4 separate regions of the Homo sapiens genome follow, and regions 1, 2 and 3 are each linked to region 4. The links are contacts of gene promoters, found by promoter capture Hi-C in blood cells and fetal thymus (Javierre and others, 2016). All regions are on one chromosome and are shown on one strand. Each heading gives the region's core, a stretch centred on a gene start or on the middle of the fragment in contact. The rest is flanking DNA. Distances are from core to core; before and after follow the strand shown. Region 1 overlaps LINC03154 (long intergenic non-protein coding RNA 3154). Region 2 overlaps RERE (arginine-glutamic acid dipeptide repeats). Region 3 overlaps RERE (arginine-glutamic acid dipeptide repeats). Region 4 holds the start of ERRFI1 (ERBB receptor feedback inhibitor 1).

Evidence for each region. Contacts are between HindIII fragments. The CHiCAGO score rates a contact against its expected background, and 5 or more counts as called.
Region 1: a fragment that was not itself captured here is called in contact with the fragment with the promoter of ERRFI1 in region 4 in 3 of 17 cell types (M1 macrophages, M0 macrophages and total CD4 T cells); the score reaches 6.4 in M1 macrophages.
Region 2: a contact is called between a fragment that was not itself captured here and the fragment with the promoter of ERRFI1 in region 4, in 1 of 17 cell types (M1 macrophages). The highest score is 5.2, in M1 macrophages.
Region 3: a fragment that was not itself captured here is called in contact with the fragment with the promoter of ERRFI1 in region 4 in 12 of 17 cell types (naive CD4 T cells, total CD4 T cells, activated CD4 T cells and 9 more); the score reaches 10.4 in naive CD4 T cells.

What each region holds. Positions count from the first base shown.
Region 1 is chr1:8,285,442-8,288,539 of GRCh38, forward strand. The region is part of intron 1 of LINC03154 (long intergenic non-protein coding RNA 3154); the gene reads left to right. Among named protein-coding and RNA genes, the nearest start is that of LINC03154, 28 kb to the left of the region's middle. RefSeq lists an enhancer at 2,885-3,098. The HindIII fragment of the contact is 9,150 bases long and covers 1-3,098 here.
Region 2 is chr1:8,380,762-8,384,083 of GRCh38, forward strand. All of the region lies in intron 12 of RERE (arginine-glutamic acid dipeptide repeats), which reads right to left. Among named protein-coding and RNA genes, the nearest start is that of RERE-AS1, 42 kb to the right of the region's middle. The HindIII fragment of the contact is 3,368 bases long and covers 1-3,295 here.
Region 3 is chr1:8,362,835-8,366,375 of GRCh38, forward strand. It overlaps RERE (arginine-glutamic acid dipeptide repeats), which reads right to left. Exons shown (of 23, transcript NM_001042681.2): 13 at 2,978-3,140; 14 at 1,912-2,004; 15 at 1,222-1,421; 16 at 1-10. Among named protein-coding and RNA genes, the nearest start is that of SLC45A1, 46 kb to the left of the region's middle. RefSeq lists an enhancer at 1,827-2,797. The HindIII fragment of the contact is 4,320 bases long and covers 1-3,541 here.
Region 4 is chr1:8,024,521-8,028,129 of GRCh38, forward strand. ERRFI1 (ERBB receptor feedback inhibitor 1) reads right to left here and starts at 1,789. Exons shown (of 4, transcript NM_018948.4): 1 at 1,638-1,789. It overlaps ERRFI1-DT (ERRFI1 divergent transcript), which reads left to right and starts at 1,973. Exons shown (of 3, transcript NR_185980.1): 1 at 1,973-2,901. RefSeq lists silencers at 1,605-1,704, 1,825-1,874. The HindIII fragment of the contact is 13,168 bases long and covers 1-3,609 here.

The sequences.
Region 1 (3,098 bases), core at 597-3,096, 260 kb after region 4:
TAATAAAACTAGAGATTAATGACAAATGAAAAGGCAAAAAGACCTTTCACCTGGAAATTTAAAAGCCTCTAATAACTCTTAAGTCAATAAAGAAATATAAAACGAAGTTCAGAATGTCTTGAAAATAAGGATGAGGTTGGGCATGGTGGCTCACACCTGTAATCCCAGCACTTTGGGAGGCTGAGGCAGGCAGATCATGAGGTTAGGGGTTTGAGACCAGCCTGACCAACATGGTGAAACCCCGTCTCTACTAAAAACACAAAAATTAGCCGGGCATGGTGGCAGGCACCTGTAATCTCAGCTACTCAGGAGGCTGAGGCAGGAGAATCGCTTGAACCTGGGAGGTGGAGGTTGCAGTGAGCCAAAATCACGCCATCGTACTCCAGCCTGAGCAACAGAGTGAGACTCCGTCTCAAAAAAAAAAAAATTAGAAAAAAAAAGAAGGATGAAAACACAACACATCAAAATGTGTGTGATGGAAAGCTAAAACTTACAGGAAAATTATAATATTTAATGCTTGTATCAGTAAAAATTTAAAAATAAAAACGAGTGAGTTAAATACCCAACACAAAATAGAAAACAGACATACAAGAGAGGACAAAAGTTTACTCCTTTGAAAATTCAAAGAAAATGGACAACCCTCTGGAAAGATTGCTCAAAGAAAAAAGATTATTTATAAAAACATAAATAAGACTAAGAATGAGAAAAAGACAAAAGTACAAAGTCAGCAAAAATGTAAAATATTTATAGTAAGAGAAGATGATAAAAACTTTAGGCCAGTAAACATGAAAACGTAGGTTAAATGGGTAAAATCATAGAAAAAATTTAAACTTGTCAAAACTAACTAGAGAAGAAATAGAAAGTGTAATGCTCCCTGTTAATGATAGCACAGTCCCAACAAGAATATCAAATTGTTTTTTCTGCAACTGGACAAGTTGATCATAAAAGTCCTTTAGAAGAAGTAAAGAGCAAAGAATTGTCAGGAAAATTCCATCCCAAAAAACAAATGAAATACTTGGGGGTTGGCTAGCCCACTATAGCGCCTCTGTAGTGAAATCTATATGGGCTGGGCACGTGGCTCATGCCTCCAATCTCAGCACTTTGGGAGGCCGAGGTAGGAGGATCACTTGAGCTCAGAAGTTCAAGATCATTCTAGGCAACATAGTGAGTCCTTGTCTCTACTAAAATTTAAAAAAAATTAGCAAGGAGTGGTGGTGCATGTCTGTAGTCCCAGCTACTTGGGAAGCTGAGGTGGGAGGATTGCTTTAGCCTGGGAGATGGAGGCTTCAGTGAGCCCTGATCGTGCCACTGCACTCCAGCCTGGGCAACAGAAGGAGACGCTGTCTCAAAACAACAACAAACAAAAAACCCCAGTATGGTATTGATATGTGCATATATGGACACACAAATCAAACAGAATAGGAAATCCAGAAATAGACCCAACTGAACATAGAAATTCAATATACAATTAAGTTGACATCTCAAACCAGTGGGAAAATTTTAATACATGGTATTAAGATACCCAGAAGGCTACAAAGAAATACAAAATTGAGTCCATTCTTTTTTTTTTTTTTTGAGACGGCGTCTCACTCTGTTGCCAGGCTGGAGTGCAGTGGTGCGATATTGGCTCACTACAACCTCTGCCTCCCAGGTTCAAGCTATTCTCCTGCCTCAGCCTCCGGAGTAACCAGGGTTACAGGCGCCCGCCACCACACCCAGCTAATTTTTGTATTTTTAGTAGAGATGGGGTTTCACCATGTTGGCCAGAATGGTCTCGATCTCTTGACCTCGTGATCCGTCCGACTCGGCCTCCCAAAGTGCTGGAATTACAGATGTGAGCCGCCGCACCTGGACGCATTGAGCCCATTCTTATACCATACAACAGAATAAAGTCCAAATGGATCACATATTTAGATGTAAAATAAGGAAAACATGGAGAAATTACTGTATAACCTACAAATAAAGAAACTTTCCTATGACTCAATTTCCAGAAACAACAAGGAAAAAGATTGATAAATACGTTTACATAAAAATATAAAATTTGGCCGGGCGTGGTGGCTCTTACGTGTAATCTCAGCACTCTGAAAGGCCGAGATGGGTGATCACCTGAGGTCAGGAGTTCAAGACCAGCCTGGCCAACATGGTGAAACCGCATGTCTACTAAAAATACAAAAATTAGCTGTGCGTGGCAGTGTGCGCCTGTAGTCCCAGCTACTCGGCAAGCTGAGGCAGGAAGATTCCTTGAACCCAGGAGGCGGAGGTTGCAGTGAGCCGAGATTTTGCCACTGCACTCCAGCCTGGGCGATAGAGTGAGGCTCTGTCTCAAAAAAAAACATGCTAAGTAAAAAAACAAAGCGAGAAAAACATTTACAAAAGTATCTATATTTTAGGTTAAGCCATTTGAAATTGCTGATATTTGACCATTTTTGACCTAACAAAATGGCAATTTCATAGGCTTCAACTTAGTACCTAATATACAAAGAGCGCCTAAAAAAAATGGGGAATATCTCCATAGAAGAATGCACCAGAGATATGAACCCATCATTTACAAAATAAAAATGCGATGACTTTTAACCATATGACAAGATGCTGAAGCACGCTCTTAAGACTCTATCCCAAAGATACATTGCAAAAATGCTCAAAAGATATATACAAAAGCAGTTTAGTACATCACTGTGTGTAATAGCAAAAGAGTAGAAACAATTCAGACGTCTCAATATCTGAGAGAGTGAGTCCTCCAACTCTGACCTCTTCTCTCCATGATGATCTTGGATATTCTTAGATCTTTGCATTTCCATGTACGTTATTAAATCTGTTTTTCTTTTTTTTTTTTTTTTGAGATGGAGTTTCACTCTTGCCGCCCAGGCTGGAGTGCAATGGCGTGATCTTGAAAAATCTGTTTTTCAACTTACCCAGACACTCAGTCTTATTGAGTTTTGTATTGGGATCAAGTTGAATCTGTAGATCAATTTGGGAAGAACTGGCATCTTTATAAAATTGAGTATTCAAACTATAAACATTGATTTAGACCTACTTTAATTAATCTCAATGTTTTGTAGTTTTCTATGTAGAAATCTTTAAAAATATTTTCTCAGATT
Region 2 (3,322 bases), core at 362-2,861, 360 kb after region 4:
TAAGGTGACTTCAGACTTGAGCCCATAGCCCAGGAGCCCCTCTGCTGATGAAGGAACCAAAGTCAGGGCAGAGAGGGGCGTTCCAGAGCTGGACCTTGGAGTCCTGGTCCTGAAAGTGCTCAGCGCTGCTGTAACGTCTGCCAGGGCTTGGGAGCCTCCATCTCCTACCACGTTCGGCTTCTTGAGTCCTTCCCTGGGTAAAAGGGACCAATGGTTTTTCCCACATGTCCTGCCTCTGACCCCAGGATCTCCTTGGGTGCAGACACCTGGAACGCCTTCTCCTGGTTGCTGCTGGCCCACCCCTCCAGCTCTATGTGCTGTCATCCACACCACCTCATACACACTTTACTGACCCATAGGAAGCGAGTTTCCGATGCGCCTGTTTCCATGATTACCAACTCTCTCACTCAGCTGTGACCTTTTTGTGGCTCATACATCACTGAGTCCTGCAGGATATCAAGTTATGTCTATAACATGATTCCCCTCCTCCCTTTCCTCCGACTGGACTCTAAACTGCAAGTGAACAGGGGATGTGGCCACTCTAAACCTTGTAACCTGCGCAATCATTAGCAGAGTGCCTGACACAAGATGGGTGCTCGGGAAACGCTAACTTGAACTGAGATCTATCACAGACACACAGACATAGAAGAATTATACTGCACCAGAAATACATAAAACAGAGGAGTCACTAACAGTCATAAAAGTGAAATAACTCAGTTTCAGTGATAAGAAATTTGGAAATCTTTCAGTGAACCATTTCAAAATTGAGCTAAACACACATAGGTGGAAAATTAGTTACGAGAATCAAAATTATTCAAGGTAATTATTATTTCCCTTAATTTATCTGTACATTAAAGTAAAAAACAAAACAAAATGAAAACAAAACACAAAGAGTCCCTTGATCCATTTAATTAGTTAAGGTTACTCTCAAAAATGAAAATGATTTCCCCAGCCCCGGGGACGCGCCAGTGTGAAATGAGAACAAGAGTCTTACAGGGAGTGTTCCTGCACATACACGTATGCACTAATGTGCGCTTGGAATTTACCAGAACACACGTGTTTTTTGTTTTACAAATCTATGATGAAACCACACAGGCCTTGGCTTGACACTGTTCCAGGGGCTAAGTCTTAACCTGAATTAACCAAGCTGCACTGTGGTCCAATGACACTTTGGCACTAAAAGAATAACTTCCATTTTTCTGAGGCTGAGCGTTTTCTCATTTCACGCTGTGAGAATCCTCTGGACCTGCCTTAAGAGCACTCAGGAAAGTGGTTACAGTCAAAATCTTCCTCTAAGGATTAGTAATAACACAGGACCAAAGCTCAAAAGCAGGAGAAAGTGAGCACCAAATTCCTTCAGTGTGCTGGAGCACATAGAGACTTCCTGCAGGCAGATAGCAAGAGGCTCTGGGATTATGCCTGCAAGCTAGCCATGCTGCTAGGCTCTTAACAAAACAGAACAAGGACAGCCTGCTGAGCTGTGGCCTGAAGCACCAGTAATGACAGCTCTCTGCCAACGGCAGTGGTCAACACTTCCACCAGCTTGGCTCCAGTGATCTCAGGTCCACCTTTGTGCCCACAAGTATCCCAATTTCTTCAGGACCAGGTGGCACTCTCAGCTGCCTCCACATGAATTAACGAAACTCAATTCGCAGCTTAGGCTTTGGCTCAGCCACGTGCGCATGCGTGCGTGTGCATGAGAGAGCGCGCATGCTGGGGAAGAATGGAGAAAAACAATGAACAAACATTGACTGTCTAGCCTTTTTCAACTGGAGTTCTTAAAATGAAGTGACTATTAATATTTTCTCAATTCTCCTATGAACGGAACATAACAGGTACCTTTCTAGATGCACAGGCAAGACGTTACTACGTTACACACAATGGATGCCCGGCTTCTGAGGCTTACCTCTCTCAGAACTCCGAGTGAGAACAGCTGCCACTGGCTGCACGACCTTGAGCAAATTCCCTAACCTCTCTTGGCCTCTGTTTCTTCATTTTAAAAATGGAGAAAAACCACCACAGGAAGGTTAAGGAACCTCCTCGAGACTCTCCTTATCTAGAAACCTGGGCTGCCTCGCCACGAGCTCCCTCCTTTATAGGGTTGTGGTGAGGATGGAAGTGCCAAAAAGGAGCCGGCACACATGCTCAGTAAGTGACAGGATTTTTTCTTGAAAATCCTTTTCCATCTGGGAAAAGGACCAGAAACTCAGAACTAAGTTCACCTTAAAGGACTATTTTAATTGACTAAGTTAAAAAAAAAAAAAAAGTCTTTCAAAGAATGGTTTCTGCAACCAACTTCCTTCCTCTATCATGTTTCCCCTAGAACGACAGTGCCTTATGTAGTCAAAGAATAAGAGAATGTTAGAGATGGTGAATGGTAATGGTGTCTGGGCCTAGTTCACAATCTGAAAGATAAGCGCTGGTCAAGGAGAAGAGTATTCTGTCTGAAGATCTCAGCTGCAACCAGCAGAACCATAAATGCCCAACAGCCCACTGAGGCCACCTAAGAAGCCTGTCTCCACCCAGGTCCAGCTTCTCTCTTACACAATCGGCAACAGAATGACGCCACACAAGATCATTAAACATTTCAGCAGGAATAAAAACGAAACCAAGAGAATGCACCTGCCAATCTATATCAGGCAACTATGGGGTTTGTGAGCCGTCCTTGCACTTTAATGCAGAATTAGCTTTGATGCACAGATTGGAAAGGTCCAGCTTAAGGGACTTAGAACATCCCATTATTTAATTTTATGACACCATCACTCCACTCTTAAATGTGTCGAAGAACATACACTTATGTTACAATTTATGCCCAAGGGCCAGGTGCGGTGGCTCATACCTGTAATCCCAGCACTTTGGGAGGCTGAGGTGGGTGGATCACGAGGTCAGGAGTTTGAGACCAGCCTGACCAACACGGTGAAACTTTATCTCTACTAAAAATACAAAAATTAGCCGGGTGTGGTGGCACGCACCTGTACTCCCAGCTACTTAGGAGGCTGAGGCAGGAGAATCGCTTGAGCCCGGGAGGTGAAGGTTGCAGTGAGCTGAGATTGCGCCACTGCACTCCAGCCTGGGTGACAAAGTGAGACTCTGTCTCAAAAAATAAATAAAATAAAATAAAATAAAATAAAATAAAAATGTATGCCAAACTACAATGAATTCTATTGCCGAATTTTAAAAATATTCACTTATGATAATGTGGGGCTCACTAGAGTGTCACAAACTCCAGAATGAAAATTAGTGGCTTAGATTACAAACTCTCGTAGTAGAAAGGTCTAAAGACTCTTTAGAATTAAGCTTGAAAGAATCTGTGTTTCTGATG
Region 3 (3,541 bases), core at 535-3,034, 340 kb after region 4:
GTGTCGACATCTGCCCACCCAAACCGAAGACTGGTGACACCAGATTCCCAGTCCCCATGTGGACCCACCTGAGCCCAACCCACAGGCAGAAGCCTGAAGGCACACCCTATCAGCCTCTCAGCAAATCCCAGACCTTGGCAAACAACAGGCCGCCCTGCCTGTCCCTGGCTGCATGAAGGTCGGTGTGGAGCTCAGGGAAGAGGTGGGGAAATCAGTGGGCTCACGCCAGAGGGCGGTTCTCAAACCTAAAGCACTCATCCCAAGGGACTGTCCTGAACAACGTGTGCTGGAAATGAACCACACTTTCTGAGCGGCAGAAAGTCGCCTGGGGCCATCTTTAAAGCACCCTACACCCTTTCTGTTTATTCCTCATAACCGTCCATTCTCCCAACCAAACCAAATGAAATCAAACACTTGTGGATTTAATCTGACAGGACAGGAAGTGACCCAAAGAGATGAAGCTGTCAAGTAAAGCAGCTCAGCTCCCCAAGCCGCCAAGCGCTTCAGCATGTTTCTGCAAAGCCATGAGGGCTCAGAAGAGATCAGGAGACAATGGTTCTGGCTGGTTGACCTGCTCCCTTCTGAGTGAGCGGGGGCCGGGCTGCCAGCAGCCTCAACGGCATACAAGGGGCAGAGGAAAGTGGATGGTCCCACCCACCTGCCAGAAGGGGCCATAAGGGAGGCTGAAGGGAAAGACCCTGTCAGTACCCTCAGCCCCAAACCTGGAAAAAGCCTCTCCCAAAGTCCCTGGCACATTTCCAACCTAGGAAACAAAGTCTCTTTATGGGAGGAGCTATGCAGTGAGCAGAAAAATGTATCGGAAGTTTCCAAAACGGGATCAAACATTTAAAAAAAATCACAAACACACTAACACAAAAGAGCCTGCAAGTTTAAAATAGCAGAGATTTGATACAATGGAAGTGACACCACAAGCAGCAGCCTTGGAGAGCAAGAGGGGCCTTGGAGAGCCTGCACTGAGCCAGAAGCTAAGAGCTTGCTACAAAACCCAGAGCAGGATGCCACCCTGGGGCCCCTCGAAGGAGAGAACAGAGAACTCTTCCCAGCCCACAGGCAAGCTACCGCCTCGGGCAAAGCAGCTCCCCTCCAGGACTTTGTCTGGTAAACAAGACTTTCGCTTCCTCCCCCTGGGAGGCTCAAGCCCCCACACATCCCAGGAAACTGAAGAAGTTGCCAGGAGCCCCATGGCCCCAGGGGACTCACCGAGCCCCGACTCCGCCGTGTCCTCATGCTATGCTTCCCACTGAGCCCATCATCCTCTTCCTTGACGGGTTTGAACATAAACGGTGGCGGGTCCACGGGCTTCTCAATGGGCGGGAGCTCACCGTATTTCTTGAAGTGGATGCGACAGTCGGTGCAAAGCAGGATGTTCTCCCGGCCTCCGTGGTGCCAATCTTTGGAGGCTGTGTGAGGGAAGTGGTGGGGGCCAACCTTGGAAACCATCCCTCTCCCTGGGGATGTCTGGGCAGAGGGGCCCTTCTGTGGGCTCTACCCAAACCTGATGCCACCAGCACCATGCAGCCCTGGGCCCCAACACCCCAGGGCTAGTGCTGCCCTGCTCCCCCAAGGCCAGGAGAGGGTTTCAGGGGCATCTGCTGCCCACTTCAACTTGGGGTGCCCAGGAAAAGCTGGCAGCAAGCTCCTGGGAACTACAGTGTCAACCCCCCAATCCCACTCAATCTGTCCTGCCTACCAGTCAGTATTCCATACCGACTGCCAAGCAGAGGAGTAAAGTAAACTAAACATTTCTAACTTTCTCGAATCCCGAAGCACAATGCAAATGTCAAATCAAGTACTGTCCCTGGCAGGTTTCCAGCTGGATGCATGAAATGTTCAGAACATGGAAGTGCTTGTGCCCCCGCCCCGCCCCAGGAGCGTGACGAGGCCACTTACTGGTGGTGAAGCAGTGGCGGCAGGCGTACCCCTTCAGCTCCTGCTCACTGTCCTCACTGTCGAAGTCATCTTCACTGGCTGAACTTAGGTCCACTGGGCGTGGCAGGCACATAGTGGGGGTGGGGGAGACACCATCATGCTCAGCCAAGGCTGGGCCGGTGGGGTGGGGGGGAGGGGGGAACACCTGTGACCTCTGGCCTACTGCAGGTTCTGGCCACCAGTCAGAGCGGCTGGGTGCACAGGCTGAGGTAGGACAGTGTCTGCAAAGGACCACTTCGAGCTCCTCAGTGTCAGTCACCAGGACAGAGGGCCTGTGTGTGAGGCGCCATACCCAAGGGCCTGCCCTGCCACTGATGCCCGTAACGGGTGAGTCTGAACTGGGACAAGCGCGTCCATGCTGCCTCCCTCCCTAATACGCCCAGGCAATCCTGAGAAATTCCAACTTCACCGAGCGCCCCCAACCCGTCCTGCTAGGTGATTTCTAGTCGCCTGCATGCGCAACACCGGCGCCCCTCAGGTTCAGCGTCCCGGGCCAGGACAGAGCTATAAGGCACTTTTGCTACACCCCAGTTTTTTAGGGGTGAGAAGGTGTGGGCTCCAGCATCATTAGATTGTACATCATACTGGGACCAAAAAGAGGATCTTGGTGAAGCAGGAGGAAAAAGAAGAAAGTGTTAATCTGATCTTCTTACAACCAAAAGTGCAATGAGAATTCAAGCAGGACATCAAGTACATCATCTGTCAAATGGAAAACCTTCCCAGGACAAGGCCAAAAACATCCCAGGCCAAGACGTGTATTTTTTGTAAAAACCTAAGATGATGTTGAGTTTATGAGAAATATTTAAATGTACAAATAATGTTTTAAAGTCTCCCTCCTGAATCCTTGTCCTGCTCCCCGCCCCCACCATCGGTCTATGTTTAGGTCAGGCTTCACACATGCACTGGAGCACGGGTGCACACCCCCTCATGCTTCCCGGAGCCATCAGCTCCTACGGGCCCAGAGTGGGACAGGCTGCCCGTGAACAGTCTCCCCTCCGCCCACTGTGATGCCAAGACCCCTACTCACAGAATTCACTGGACGGGGGTCTGGAGGGTGTGTTGACGGGTGTGGACGCGGTGCGAGTCTTAATCCTCCTGAACACGGCCTGCCTGCGGTGCCTACGATGGGCTCGGGAGCTGGCTGCTTCGGGGGTCTTCTTCCAATAGTAATAGAAGGTGATCAGCTCCCCCTGCAGAAGAGAAGGGCTGACTGTGGGGGAGGGCCTGGGGCTTTTCCGTGCCCCACGCACCCTCTCTGCCACAGTGGAAAGCTGGGTGTTTAACAGCTGTGCCAGAGATGAGAATAAAGACCAGTCGCTCCTGGAGTTGGGAGAGGAACTGGGCTTGCCCAAGAAACAGCCACTGAGCTGCCCGTGGACTGCATGAATGGGGCCCGCCTCCTCAGCCCAGCACAGCTTGACTTCCAGACACCAAGAACAAGTACTTGTTGGGTGTCTGCTATGTCAGACCCCACCGCTGTTGTACACATGGGAGGTACACATCATCCACAATGGACGAAAAGGAGAGAAGATTCCTGCCCACGAGGAGCTTACATTCTAGCTGTGTGTGCACGTGAGTCTGTGCATGTGTG
Region 4 (3,609 bases), core at 539-3,038:
TATACAAGGCAGAGTGCCTACCCTTAAGGAGTTTACAATCTAATATATCTGTCAGGTTATAAATCGTTAGTCTAAGACCTCTATCACTTATTATCGAGTGTCCCCTGGAACACACAGGTGAAAATAAACTTCTGCTTGAAGCAAAGGGAATGACAAATAGTTTCTGAAGTCCATGCTAAATCCTTTGTTATTTTTCTTCAAACTTGCTAATATCTGGAAAAGAACTTGCTTGATAACATATTGGTAACCAATTATAGCCAGCATGTTAGCAAGAAACCAGCTTCTTTTATTTTGGTCTTTGCAAAATTTGATCATTTGCTGATACCTAGCCTGTCTTTGGTCTCTGTTCAAATAAAATTTCACTTAAAACTGTATATTGTAATTACAGAAATATAAGAAAAGAAATGCAGTTAAAAAAATAGGTACGGTGAACTTGGGATGTTCAGTCTCAACAAATGTGTGTACCCACTGCATTCTTACACATTTATAAAAGGTTGAACATTTGTTCTGGAAGGGAAAAAAAGGGCATTTTAACCTCACCTTTCTTCACCCCTGACAGTTGCCTAGAAACCAGTCTTGCCCTACCTGTGTTGCAGGTGTACCTCAAGTCACCGACACATCTCTTTTAAAGCTACAGTCTCCATTCTGACTTAAGTTTATGACTAACCATCTATTCATATTTTTATCAGGTAAGAGACTGGTTTCTTTCAAGCAATGATGAAATCCTAATAAAGACTTAGCAAGCACTAATACAGCACCATTCACGGTTAAAGAGTCATCTAATTTGTACAGGGCTATGATATACATATAAATACACACACAAAATTCCCAATAAGCATTCACGTCTTGAACACATAATTTTGCAGTCCGATTCCATTCAAAGCCGTACTTAAGACACTCAGAGCAAAGAATCACGTTTCTAGGAGAGAAGGAAGAGTTCAGAACAGCTTAGACGAATTTTTAAATACTGATTTCGGCATTACCATCGTCGCTGTGAGATTAGGCAGAGGGAGCGGGGCTGACCGCCAGAGAACCGGTACCAACCACCGCAAGCAATCGCCGAGCCTCCCACCCCAGCTTTCAAGACAGGATTTACGGGTACACGGTGTGAACAAGACAACGCAACCCCCTTTTTACAAATAAAAAAAAAATCAAACAAGCCCCCAGGCCCGAAGACGCTCATCCCCGCCGGGCAACCCCGCGAGCGCAGGCTGCGGGACGAGGACCTTCATGCTCGCCGCTCCCGAACCCCCGTCCGCTCCTGCGGTCCCGGTGCTGCGGGGACGTATCCCGGGCGCTCGGGTGCATGGCCCCGGCCAGCCGAGGGGCCGCGCGACGACCACAGCCGGCGTGGAGAAGGCGGCGGGCGCCGGCACTTCGCGGCGTCCCCAGGCCCGGGCTGCGCCGCCGGGGAGGGTCCCGCTCTCCACACCTCAATGGGGAGAAGCCCGCGAGCGACCGGCCGGCCTCTCCCTCCATCCCAGAGACTCCGCGTCGCGGCGACCCTCCCCGCGCCCTCCACGCCCCCGCCCTCGCGTCGGGGAGCCGCCTGGATCCCGGCGCCCGGCGCGGGGCCCCCTGAGGGAACGGAGCGCTGCGTGGCCCTCCCCACCCCCTCAGCGCGCCAGGCCCCTTACCCCGGAGGAGCGGCGGCTGCCCCGCGGCGCCCTCCCGCGCATGTCCGTCCCGGCTGGCTCAGCGCCGCGGGCTCAGGGGCCCGGACATCGCGCAGGCGCCTCTTGCTGGCTCGCGCTCCCGCTAGCACTCTGCCTCGCACCGGACCGCCGTCGCCGCGGCTGCCGCCGCCGCCTCTATATATAGCATAGGCCGCCGGGCCGTGAGGTCGCCGCGTCCCGCCCCGCCTCCTCCCGCAGCCAATCAGGGCGCGCGCCGCTTAAAGGGGCGATGCCGTGGCCGAGGCGTTGCGCCGGGCCCACCGTGGCGTATCGCGGCGCTGCAGGGAGCCGGCTTTGTCTCCCGGAGAGGCGTCTCCGGGCTGACCGCGGCCGCAGCTCCGCTCCTCTGCCTGAGCCGTGCGGCAGCCCTGGGAGCCTCTCAACGCCGAGCTTTCCTCAGAAGCCCGCGGCGACCCGGGCCTCGGCCGCTGTTCCTGCCCGAACTGAGGGCACATCGCGCTTCGCGCGGGATTTCCCATAAATTCAGGCTCCGGGCAAGATTGTGTGTTTTTTCCTCTCCGCGGGCCGCCGCTGGCCGTGTGGGCCGAAGAAGCCCTGGAGGGGGAGAGGGGAGCCGCTCTCGACTGGGCTTGCGGCGTGGGAGGGACAGTGAGGGACACTTAGGGACTGTGTGGGGCAGTGAAGGATAGTGTGGGATGATGAGGGACCGTGTGGACCGGTGAGCGACTGTGTGGGACAGTGCGGGACGATGAGAGACGGTGTGGGACGGTGAGGGACAGTGCGGGACGATGAGGGACAGTGAGGGACTGTGTAGGACAGTGAGGGACAGTGTGGGACGGTGAGGGACTGTGGGACAGTGAGGGACTTTGGGACTGTGAGGGACTCGGACAGTGAAGGATGGCAAGGGACAGTGTGGGACAGTATGGGACAGTGGACAGTGAGGCACTGTGAGGGGCGGTGAGGGACAATGAAGGATGTCAAGGGACAGTGTGGGACAGTGGACGGTGAGGTACTGTGAGGGGCGGTGAGGGACAGTGTGGGACTGTGAGGGATGGCGAGGGACAGAGTAGGACAGCAAGGGAGGATGAGGGGACAGAGTGGGCCGGCGTGGGGCGGTGAGGCTACGCGGGGGGAACCCAGGGCTCCTCTGACTGCGTTGGAATATGGAGGAAAGGTCCTGCTCGAGGTTGAGCCCTTCAGGGTCGCTGTGGGTTTCCAGGAGGAGCTCCCTCACTACTGACTTAGGGGGCCCTCGGCTTCCCAGGTTTGTGTTTACTCAGGCGACCTGAGCTGGCCCCGACGTCTTTTGGCTTTGGAGAGGCCACGGATGCCCAAGGACAAAGCCCCAGCGGGCCTGTGGGAGGAGGTTTCTCGGGGCGCCAGTGATGCAACTTAGGCTTATAGTTTAACCGTAAAATAAATAATACAAATGATAACAAACCAAGAGTGACTAAAGTCAGAAAAAAAGCAAACAGACGGAAACCCTCTAGTTTTAACTAGAACAAATTCCCTGGCTGGTCCTCTGTTGGGAGAGCCCAGAGACCTGTCGCTGACCTCTAGCCTCCTGGAGCCCCTGCTTGCACTTCAGCAATAATGCCTGATAGTTAGACACTGATCACTAGCTAATTGGGGTAGTTTAACATATGGAATGAGATTCTGGCCTTATTATCAGGTTAACTATTAACTCTACACCCCATGAAATGATTTGCCTTTCCCCCACTATTATTTACTTACATTCTTTTTAATTTAATTCAAAGGCCTAATTTTGAATTCAAGGCCTTAAGCACGAAAAGGAAAAAAAAAAGAAAAAGAATCTGAAGTATCTTTGCCCTCTCTCACTTGCAAAACAAACGAACGTTTTGCAGAGAGAAATCTGGCTTCCTTTCTGATGGCTCTTCTGGCTTACAAGGGGCTGTTGGGTCATTTTCATGCCTATGCCATTTGTCAACAATTCAGTTAACCTATCTTCTTA